Linked DNA regions of Homo sapiens: region 1 is linked to region 2. The links are contacts of gene promoters, found by promoter capture Hi-C in blood cells and fetal thymus (Javierre and others, 2016). All regions are on one chromosome and are shown on one strand. The core of a region is centred on a gene start or on the middle of the fragment in contact, and the rest is flanking DNA. Distances in the headings are between cores, read along the strand shown. Region 1 holds the start of QDPR (quinoid dihydropteridine reductase). Region 2 holds the start of CPEB2 (cytoplasmic polyadenylation element binding protein 2).

The links. The method cuts DNA at HindIII sites, captures the fragments that hold promoters and counts their contacts. A CHiCAGO score of 5 or more calls a contact.
Region 1: the fragment with the promoter of QDPR here is called in contact with the fragment with the promoter of CPEB2 in region 2 in 2 of 17 cell types (non-activated CD4 T cells and naive CD8 T cells); the score reaches 5.9 in non-activated CD4 T cells.

Annotation. Positions count from the first base shown.
Region 1 is chr4:17,510,471-17,516,043 of GRCh38, reverse strand. It overlaps QDPR (quinoid dihydropteridine reductase), which reads left to right and starts at 3,954. Exons shown (of 7, transcript NM_000320.3): 1 at 3,954-4,094. The coding sequence starts at 3,990. CLRN2 (clarin 2) reads right to left here and starts at 879. Exons shown (of 3, transcript NM_001079827.2): 1 at 525-879. The coding sequence starts at 777. RefSeq lists a silencer at 3,746-4,325. The HindIII fragment of the contact is 4,464 bases long and covers 2,929-5,573 here.
Region 2 is chr4:14,999,379-15,005,072 of GRCh38, reverse strand. It overlaps CPEB2 (cytoplasmic polyadenylation element binding protein 2), which reads right to left and starts at 2,592. Exons shown (of 12, transcript NM_001177382.2): 1 at 738-2,592. The coding sequence starts at 2,399. It overlaps CPEB2-DT (CPEB2 divergent transcript), which reads left to right and starts at 3,028. Exons shown (of 8, transcript NR_038857.1): 1 at 3,028-3,135; 2 at 3,348-3,447; 3 at 3,844-3,912. It overlaps C1QTNF7-AS1 (C1QTNF7 antisense RNA 1), which reads left to right. Exons shown (of 6, transcript NR_125911.1): 6 at 1-131. RefSeq lists enhancers at 146-712, 3,554-3,603 and silencers at 154-753, 1,134-1,343, 1,444-1,593, 1,644-1,953, 2,454-3,313. The HindIII fragment of the contact is 6,054 bases long and covers 1-3,332 here.

The DNA.
Region 1 (5,573 bases), core at 2,705-5,204, 2.5 Mb before region 2:
CTTCCCAAAGGTTCAGTTCTGCAGGCAGCCTCCACCCACTTGTTGTGGTCATGTGGCATGGGTCTGGAGTCCGGCTCTACTGTTTCCTGGCTGGGTGACCTCAGGTAAGTTATGTAACCTCTCCAAGCCTCAGTGTACTCCTCTGGAAAATGGGAACATTAACAATTCCTTCTGTATAACTTTGTTGTAAGGCTTTAAGGAGACAAGTGGCGTGAGGTGCTTACAATGTCTGACACGTGTAAACTCTCAATATTTTAATAGTCATAATTAATAGAGGTAAACTGCAAAAATGCACAAATCCTTATTTCTAATGTTTCTATACATCTCTACAGAAAAAGAAAAGGAAGCAAGGAAGGAAGGAAAGATCTTTTTGATGTGGATCCAGAACCCTTGGCTCACTGTGGACTTTGACATTATGCCTGACGTTGAGGCAGCAGCCAAATTCCACAATGAGACATAAGCACTCTTACACATTAACAAAAATGAGTGCCTAGAATCAGCTTTCATGCTCCCAATATACTCACTCGTGAATTGGGATTGGCGGCCCCCAAGCCCACACTGCCGCACTTTACACCCTCGGAAGAGCCCGTAGTAAATGTCCCCAATGAACTTGACCAGCTCTCTGTCTGTGGCGTTGACCAGATCCACTCCAGTCTGACAAAGGATTTTCCCACTCAGCCAGTGGGGCACTACCAGGGCAACGATGATCAGGATGAAGGAGGAGAAGCTGAGTAAAGACGCCAGCCCATACCACGCCTTTTTGAACCATCCAGGCATGCTAGTGGGTGCAGGTCATCCCCAAGGTCTCCGAGCAGCAGCGAGGGTCATTGACATCTTTCAGATACTCGGCAATGCTCTGCTCCAAGGTCAGCTCTTCCAAACACTCTGTTTCAAGGTTGTAGGTCCATCCTCTCGTCCTCCTTCAGCGCAAGCTTGCACAGTCCATGCTTCCTACAACCACATCCAGAAGCCTCTACAGAGACAATCTTCACCTGACTATGTAGCGGAGTGTGTTACTGAAGGAAGTAACCTTATATCTCCTCCTAGACTAATGTTTCAGCAGACTGTTTAACTGTTCCTCGTTTCAAGTATTTAAATAGCCCTGGTGTGGACCTCGTAATGATAAAGGAGTTAGTAATAAGCAAAATCAGGTAGCTCTGAAGATTAAGAGACGCAAACCAATCTCAAAAAATGCATGTGTTAGAAGGAAAACAAAAACAGAATGATTAGCACTTGAATATTGCCAACAATGCGCAGTATCAAATGTCGATCTCGCTGATGCATGGGTGCCCTGGCATTTCTTTCTCTGAAATGTCACTGCTGTCAGAATCTTTAGGACTGTTATTAATACCATCAAATGACCCCGGTTCTTGGGGCTTTAATATTGAAATGTGTAAATAGGGCCTTATGAATTTCTCACTGTGTGAATCTGCTGGGGGTAAACTGTGACTAGAATTACTTTGTGGCTGTTGGGGTAGCCTGGAATCCAACACTTAACATTGCTCTCACCCGTCCCTCCTTCTACGTTATCTGAAATGGGAGAGAAAAGTGTTTTTCTAGTGTATTAGCAAATAGTAGCCACACTGCTGGGGTATTCATCTCTTCTAATAGTGGAAGATCTAGGCTTTCCTTTTAATCTGTAGATACTAGGAATGAAATATTCTTTCCTTTCTATCTTATACTGTGGACTTTGACATTTTGACTTTTACCTTATTCCTGAATATCAACTTAACATCATGTGAGACTGGCAACAGTCACTCTATCCATATCTCTGGGGAGCAAAGTTGGGCAAAAGTGGAGCAGTAAAATTTCTTAGTTGGTCACAGAAGCCTGAAGGGGGGTTCAGGAAGTTGCACTGTTAACCAATAGGGGTCCCAGGAATCTCACTTGGAGAGTGTCAAGGAAGCAGAGGGACACATTAATGGAAATGTCAGTTTCCTTCCTCGCAACTGGGGCTCACTTCAGTGGCCACTCCACAATGAAAATAAAAATGAGAATTTCTGAGCCTGGGCAATGTAGTGAGACCTTATCTCTACAAAAAATAAAAAAAAAAAATAGTTGGGCCTGATGGCGTGTATTTGTAGTCCCAGCTACTGGAGGCTGAGGCTGGAAGACTGCTCCAGCCCAGGAGCTCAAGGCTGTAGTGAGCTATGATCATGCCACTCTGAGTAACAGAGTGAGATCCTGTCTCTTACTATATATACAGATGAGTGGCACTTTACCATGTACAAAATGCAAAATGCTTTGACCATATGCTTGCTCACCTCTGATGCTCCAGCAACCCTTTAAGGTAAACAGGAGATGCACGATTTCAGCCATTTCTCTCATGAAAAACTGGATGTCAGTGCTGGGGCTGAAATTCAGGTCTTTGAATTACAACAGCTCATCTTCATCCCAGTGACTTTGAAACAGCAAATGTTTTTCTGGTAAAAAATAACAGAATACATATAAAAGGCTCAGAAGACTGCTTGGCACATTAAGTGATCAATAATGTTAGTTCACGTTCTTATTTTAACATTAAGCATGCTTTGACAAGTCAGGACTTGCGTAAATATCATTGAGTCATATTTCTGCCGTCAGTGAGGGACCTGTGTCAACTTTTGGTGTTTTGAGGGTTAAGCAATTGTTTTCAGAAAAACTCTAAGGGAAACACTTGATTCCCAACAAGCCTTTGTCTTGCTGAACAAAGGTGTGGTTAAGTGGAACTCTAGCTATTGAAGACCTGTGTTCAAATTCCCACTCTTCCAGACAAGTGTCTGTGACTCTCATGCCTCAGCTTTCTAATCTGCATAGGATTATCGTGTGGAGTAAAGTGAAATAGCACAGGCAGATCACTTAGCGCAGTGCCTTGGATATAAGGAGCACTAAATAGATGGTGCTCTCCTCTCCATCCAGCCTCCTAGCAGTTCTATTTCTGATAATGAAGCTTCTGACAACAAAATGTGCTGCTGGCTGCATCCTCTTCTCTAGTGACATATTTCTGCATGCTTTACCTGGCACAAGTTTACTGAACAAACATCTGTGTCTGCTGTGTACAAGGTTATATGTGGATGGGAAGTGACACAAAGATGTATGTAATACAGGGTTCTGCTATCAAGAAGGTTATGAGAGTGTTAGAGCTCTGGTTCTCTATCAGTGATGAATTTGCCCCTAGGAGACAACTGTTAAATCTGGAGATATTTTTGATTCTTATGAGTGAGGGGTAGGGGTTTGCTATTGATTTCTAGTATATGCAGGCCAGGGATGCTGTAAATATCCTACAGTACCCAGGGCAGCACCTGTCACAAATAATTATCTGGCCCAAAATGTCAGTAGTGCTGTAGATGAGAGGCTCTGTGTTAAAGATACAGGCCATGGGCAGAAATAACTAATATACAAGGGAGAAAATGCCAGGATCTGTGTCTGGCGATGGGTGGCATATAGTAAAAGGGCCATTTGGATTAATGGGTATAAATTTACGGTTAGATAGAAGAAATAAGACCTAGTGTGGTTTGTCTCGTCTCGGCGGTGGACTTTCAGCTCCTTGAGCGGAGCGACCTCTTCTGTTTTTTTGGCAGGTGGGAATACTTAAATCTCTATTTTGATGCACAATTAAAAATAAAAAATTGCCAAAACAGTGGTCGAAAATTGTACTATACTATATTTTACATGCTTACACTTCACAAATTAATGCTCGTAAAACACCCGCTCTCCACCCTCCTCGCCCTTAGCCCGGCTCGCTGCACGCCCCGAGGCCCAGCACTTGCTGGCGGGTGGGAGGAGGGGCTTCGCCGATGTCCCCGTCCCAGGGGCAGGGCCTGGCCGAAGTTACAGTCCCTCCGGGTGGCGGGGCGCCCCGAGCGTGGCAGCGCGCTAGGCGGCAGCAGCGGGCGCGGAGCGGGGCGCGGCCGCCGCGCGTTCCCTCTTGGCGGGGTTGGCCGGCCGGGGCGGGGCGCGGCGCTCCGGCTCGAGGCATTCGGAGCTGCGGGAGCCGGGCTGGCAGGAGCAGGATGGCGGCGGCGGCGGCTGCAGGCGAGGCGCGCCGGGTGCTGGTGTACGGCGGCAGGGGCGCTCTGGGTTCTCGATGCGTGCAGGCTTTTCGGGCCCGCAACTGGGTAATGCTGCGGGCTGGGGCTGCTGGGTCTCCGCGGGGGTGGCCGGGGGCTTTCGTGTGGAACCCGGCGGGGGGCAGTCTAGAGGAAGGTGGGGGCCCCTGTGCACCCCCTGACTCGTGTTGCTTGCACGTGCGCGCACAGGTCTACGCGTCTATTCCTGTTTCCGAGTGCGTGCGCACGCCAGTCCCAGGGCGCTGGGCCTTTGCTGTGCAAGGAGGTGCTCCGTGGGCCTCCGCCAGACCCAAAAAGTCCGGCGTGACTCGGGAGAGAATTCCAAAGGGGAGGAACGGGAGCAGGGGTGAGAGGACGGAGAGAGAGTGTAGAAGGAAGGCTCTAGAATGAGACAGCCCAGTCCCGGTTACTAGTCATGAGACCGCGTATTGATTACCTAACGCCGTAGGACCTCGGTTTCCCCATTTGTACAACGGAGATTCTGACAGTGAGAGTTGGGACGATTAGATGAGATAATTGGTGTCGTTGCACATAAATTACCTGACGCCTGGTAAAAACTGTTTAAATGCTGTCTATTAATGTTACTATTACTACCCACCCCTGTTCTTTTAGCCCCATTGGATCTGACAGTTTGAAGGCTCAGCACGGAAAAACGCTGACGGCTTCTTTGCTCTGCAAAGACTATTTCAACTACTTTGCATAGTCAGGTGTCAATTTCCAGGAGGCGGCAAGTCGGAGCAGAGCTGATACATGGCCAAAGACCCTTGACCTCAGCCGCTCAGCAGGCCTCAGCAATTTCCCGGTGGAGACACTGCCAGCGGCAGCGTTCTGGGAGCTTAGTTAGCAGCAGCAGCACAGCAGCCTGGGCAAGAGTTCCCCTGGGACCAGAAAAAGGCTTTCAGGATTTTCTTTAAAAAAAAACTATCTAATTTTTATAGATGAAGGGGGCAAAAGTACAGTTTAGTTACATGGATATGTTGTGTAGTGGTGAAGTCTGGGCTTTTAGTGTAACCATCACCCAAATAGTGTACATTTACCAAGGTTTTCTTGTTGCTCAGAATCTGGTACAGGAATATGCTTCTGAAGAATTCAGTCACACCACTCCCTTCCTGCCACCCATCTGCTCAGTGCTTGGGGACACTGATGAGGGCGCTTTCCCAGGTCTTCAGAGATGCATGGTGGTGACAGAGGCAGCACTTCTGCCAAGGGCCAGGCACTGTGTTCCCAGTACCAGAGTTCCCATAGACTCTTAATGCCCCCAATATCTTTAAGGCAGTAGATCCTGTTAGCGTCATGTGTTAGAGGGTGAAGGCTGTGCTTTCTCCTGGTGGTGGCACTTTGGTTTACCTTGGTCTTGGCAGAATCTGGAGAGCTGATTTACCTCTGGCTCTTGGTCTTTCCCCTCCGAGCTTCTTCCTGCCATCTTAGGGAGGGCTAGGATGATGGAGACTTTTCATTGTTTCAGTATCCCCCATGGGATAACAAGTTAATTAATAATATAACAAATGTTGATGAATAGATGCTGTG
Region 2 (5,694 bases), core at 1,343-3,842:
GCCGGCGGCCCAGGGTGCGGCGCTGCCAGCAGGTTGATCGGGCGGAGCTTTGGGAGCGGCTCGACTGACCGCCCGAGGGGCTGAGGCTTCAAGGCGAGATCACCGCCGGCCAAATAAGAATAAACAAACTCCAAAGAAAAAAAAAAGCCTTTCCGCCTTCCCTCATTGGACAGCGAGACAGAGTCTTGGGCTCCTCCGCACGCACCTTCTCCAGCAATCATTTTTCCCCTGCCCAAGTTCACTTCCCACGGCCGCTCTTCCGAGGCCCCCGGCCAGCCCCCGGTCCTCGCCGCGCCTCCCCGCGTCGGGGGTCCGGGGCGGCGGCCCTCCAGGCCCAGGGCACAGGGCGGATCCCGGGGTGCGCCAGCTAGGAGGGCCGGGTTGAGACGCCGCGCCCGGCCGCCCGCGGCCCCGGCGCTATTCGGCCCCTGCCCCAGTCCCCACTGCTGCGCCGGGACGTTCGAGGGGGCGCCCGGCCAGCCGCGGCTCCCAGCGCGAACTCGTCTCCCACGCCCCCACAGCCCACGGTGGCCACTGCCCTCCCAACCCACCGGGGGCTGGGGTTCCGAGTCCTGTCACGGTTGTCCGCCCTCAGTTCCACTCTCACTTGGGCGAGTGGCCCCCGTCGCGGCTTCTCTCGGGGCTAAGGTCGGGTCCCCGGCTGCCCTGCCCCCGCCTCCGTCCCCCGCCCATGGTCTCCCGGTCCCGCGGCGCGGCCAGGCCGCCGCCCGCCGTACCTGGTGGTGGTTATAGGAGTTCCTCTGCTGCAGGAAGGCGGCGGCCGCCGCCTGGTGCTGCTGCTGGAGCTGCGGGCTGACGGGCGACCTCCGGCTCTGCGGCTGCTGCGGCGCCGCGGGCGGCGGGGGCTGCTGTTGAGGTATATTCATGGCGGGCGGCGGCGGAGGGGGCACAGCGGTAGCCGAGAAGGGGCCGCCGAAGCCGCCGCCGCCGCCGCCGCTCGTCGGAACGCTGAGCCCAGTGCAGCCGTGCGGCGACACGGGCGAGAAGCTAGGGAAGAAGGCCGGGTTCATGGACGACGGCAGCCCGGGGTAGAAGCCGTTCTCTGAGTCGGGGCTGGGCGGCGGCATGGCGCTGAGCGAGCCGCCGCTGCCGCCGCCCGGGGTGGTGGCAGACGAGCCGGGCGGCTGCGGCTGCGGCTGGGGCGGCTGCTGGGGTGGCGGCGGCTGCTGCTGCGGCTGGGTCGGCGGCGGCTGCTGGGGCTGGGGTGGCGGCGACGCGGTCTGCACCGACCAGGGGGTGCCGAAGCCGGGCAGCGGCGGCGGCGACGCGGAGCCGCCTCCCCCTCCGCCTCCTGGGGGCCCCCCGCCCCCGCCGCCGCCGCCGCCGCCCGGGTGTGGAAGGTCCGGGCTCTGCAGGCTGCTGAAGGCGCCCGCGCCAAGCGCACCTCCGGGCAGGAGGTTACTGGGACTGTTGAGCAGAGGGTGGTTGGGGGACTCCATGGAGCCCGGCGCGGGGTTCACCGGCGTCGAGGAGGCCAAGCCCGCATTGGGGGACTCGGCGGCGCTGCCCTCGCCCGCGGCTGGGGTCTTGCGAGGGCTGCCCGCGCCTCCGTGGCGGCGCCGCGGGGCTGCAGGCGGCGAGGGAGGGAGCTGCGGGAGCGGGGGCAGGTCTGCCGGACGCTGCCGCGGGGCGAAGTCCTGCGGCGAGAGGTGCTGCTGATGCAGGAGGCTGAACTGCTGCGGCGGCTGTTGCTGCTGGCGCTGAGCGAGCTGCGCCGGCTGGAGGAGCGGGCCGGCTGGCGGCGGCGGCGGGCTGAACCGACCGGGGCAGTGGAGCGGCGGAGGCGGCGGCGGCGGCTTCGAGTCCGGAGGGTGGGGAAGGTGGGGAGGGCTGAACTCTTTCCTCTTCTGGCTGCTCAGCTGCTGCTGCTGCCGCTTACTGAAGTCCTGCGGGGAGGAGGTGCGGCAGCAGCAGCAGGAGGAGGCGGAGGAGGAGGAGGGGTGGTGCAGACTCGGTTTGAAGTCCTGGGAGGGGAGGAGGTGGGTCACACCCGCGATCGTGCCGCCGCCGGGGTGGTGGTCGGGGAGTTTCTCCGTGGCCGCCGCCCCCGAAAGCGGCCGCGCCGGCTGCTGTGTCAGCCCCAGAAGCAGCTCATCCTGCATGGTCTGCTGATGCGCCAGGAACGGGGAGGAAGAGGAAGCGGCGGCGGCCGGGCTGCCCGCGCCGCCGCCGAGGGGGACGGAGAAGGGGGAGGCGGCCTCTAAGAAGCCGGTGACAGGCAACGGTGGTGGCGACAGTGGGCCGAAGGGCGTGGCGGAGGGCAGCGGGTTGACGGACCCCACGGCGTAAGGACCATACGCCTCGCCGCAGAACAGGGGCCCAGGACTGCTACTTCGGAGCGGGGCGGTCTGCAGCACCCCAAACCCGAAATCCCTCATTTATCAGGCCGCCGGCAGCGGGAGGAGACGCTCCTCGTCCCCTGCCCCACCTAGGAAGCCGCCGGCGCTGGGGTTGCGCGGCCGTGGTGGAAGGAGGGGGAGTCAGTGAGAGAGGGACACCGTGACTGAGCCAGGGGGCACCGACTTCGGCCCCACCACCCCTCGCGGCGATCGCCGCCGCCGCCGCCGTCGCAGTCGCCGTAGCCGCCCTGGCCGCTTAAGAACCCCGGAACGTGCGTCAGCGCCACCTCACAATCGCGCCGCCCCCCGCGGTGCGTCCCGGCACGCGCGGGCGCGAGGCCACCGCGTCCCCGTCGCCCCTCCCCGCCCCTCATTACTATGCAGACGCAGCCGAGGGCGCGCTCGCGCTCCCGGGAGGGCGGGAGCGAGCGGCGTGTCCCGTTGGGTCTCTCCGCTCCCGGGGAAATGGACAGGCCGGTTGGGGTGGGGGTCGGCTGGCAAACAGTGGTCGGGAGCATTGGGCGGGCGCGCGCACGAGGGCAAGCACGCGCGGGAGGGAGGGACGGTTCCTGGGCAACGGCCCCTCCTTGGCGCGGGATCCGCGCAGAGTCTGCCTGGGTCGCACGCGTCTCCGCCCCTCGCGGTGCCTCCTCCTTCCTGTCACCTCGGTTCCGCCCTGGGTGGGGAGAAGCCCTGCTGCACCACTCGGGCTTCCCAGAGCGGGGCTGGCCCGCGGGGGAAACTGAGGCCCGGGACCCCGACCGGCGCCTGCACTGTGCGACCCGCGTAGAAATAGGCGCCCGAGGGGCCCCCAGCGCAACGCGGGAGCCCGGCCCAGCCCGGGGGTCCTGTGGTGAACTAGCGTCTGGGCTCTGCCGGCTTGAAGTCCGCTGAGCGCCTCGCCGCGCACCTCTAGACCCCGAGTCCCCGATCTAGGGCCTCCTTGTAGCCCTAGGTAGCGCCCTCTAAGCTTGTTTCTGTTTTTAGGCGCTGGTAGGAGTGCTGTCACCGACGTCGTAGAGCCGCCGAGGGTGTTTCTGTAGGGTAAACATGAAGCCTCGGCTATATTCCAGGCATTTTCACTTGGGTAAGAAGGAACAAAGTCCCTGGAACAAACACGCTCCGCGTGGTTATTTACACACTCGGATGCGTGGAACGGGTTCCACGGCGAGCTCCCATAGTAACCCCGGGCCAGCTCCGCTTCATAAAAGCCTTTCGTGTGCCATCAGGGCTGCAGCGTGGGACTCCTCCCCACCACATTCATTCCGGCGTCCCCGCCCCTTCCCCCCAGGGAGACTCTAATTTATTCCTAAGCTTTATGAATTTTCAAGGGAGAAATAGTTCTTACATCAGGGAAAAAAGGAGGTTCTGACTCAGCAGCAGACTTGTTGAGACTTGCAAAATGGAAGGGAGAGAGCTTTCCATGGTAGAGCTCTTTAGAAGCATTAGAGGAGGAACTAATCCTGTGTTTCCTTTTGTATAGAAACATTTTACATAAAGTATTTGAAGGTCTAGATAAAGAATAACAGAGTGATCCATACTACATGATGAGGTGAACTTTATGTTTCTGTTTTGTAATTTTAACTGTTTTGCTTGATGCTTAGAGAAATGAAACTATTAAATGAATCCTAGAATATAGACTCAAACCCCCAAAGCAATAGAAGGTGGATTCAGACTTTACTTGATTTTGGTTTACAAGTGAACTAAGATTAAATATTTAATTTTATAAATTAGCATACTCTTACTGATGTAGGCAGAGTGTACATTTTTATAAGTCCTCATTCTCTATTTGAATTCTACTTCTGTTCAGTGTCTCAAATTTATATAAATCGAAATAAACATGGTAGAAAGAGAGCAACATTGCCCCAGGGAACTATACTTCATGTATAATGTTTATCTCTGCTATCCTGTCCAATGAACCAAGTTTTATGTTGCCTTTACAATAAGGAAAAAGTACTTTTTAAAAAACTCAAATGGTTCAGAATTTGGTCAGGTGAATAGAAAATTGGTTCAACTTATTAATCTCAAAATCATTTTTAACAGTCAGGCAAAATGTAGAACTGGAGAAGTATTTTTATTCTAAATTACAATGTCTAGAAAATAACCTGAGCTCAGAATTTAAAATATAAATGGTTATTTTCAGAGTATATATTGACATATTAAATATTCATTTTTTAAAAGGTATTGTGCAGGAAAAAAAACTACTTCTGCAACTAAGGAATGTAAAGTCTTAACAACGGATGATTTTTTTCCAAGTACAGTTGTATTTGATTGGAATCATTTGCAGATCCAACAACAAATCTTGAAATAGGGGGAAAATACAGGTATAAACCTTAGCTCAATTATCCACTAACACCGCAGTTAGTAAAGAGGAGAGAGCACATACTTTTAAAAGCTAACTGGTGCCTTTCTGGGCTAGAGTTTTGAACAAAAACAAGATTTCTTAGTGCTCTGGTACTAGTTTTGTCTTAGAGGATTTAGAGCTCTCTGAAACGGGGAAAAGCCATCAAGTTTGTTATTACATAATAATGTCAAACTTCATATTAAATACACCAAATTCCAAATCCTGCCAGGGCCTCTACTCACTACTTTTGTGAGGGCCCCATTTTTTTAGAGCAGAAAGTTACTTTCTGACATCTTGTAAGCTGGTGATCTTGCCCTTATTGAAAATATTCAAATGAAAAGGTTTCCTAGGGTGGAGAGTGGAGTGGGGTAGGGAGAAGGAGCAGCAAATACTGAGGAGGGACTATGGTCCTCTAGCAGTTTCCATGCCAAGATCTTATGAGTCCATTCAATGATTTTTTTGGTTTTTTACATGAAAATATTTTGACTCATGATCATTAACTAGGACCTTGACTTTGTATTTGACAGTCCCTTATTCATTTACTCCCACTGTCCTGGGCAAGTATTTTTAAAAGTATTTTTGCTACAACCCAATATATGTGCAAGTACACACTCATGCAACTGAAATAAAGCTGCTATTAAGCAATTCTTTTAATAATGCAACAAACTCCTTTTTATAATTCTATTTTCATTTTAAAATCACGTTTGATCTCAAATTACAAAGTTGGTTTTAACACCCTCTATCAGATTATGAACTGAAAAACCACTGTCCTAGACCATTTCAAACATTCTGCTCAATCTGAAAACCTCTTGTCACATCTCTCCTACATGCATCTGCTAGCATGTAGCACTCTCAGCTGCTGAGCTACATGCTTATTTCACTGAGAAAAAAGAAGCAACCACAGGAAAACTTCCACAGTCTCCCTGCATCTGTCCCTGCACACCTTGCCTTCCCTCTCGATACAATGGATGGCCCATCTGCCCATACTCC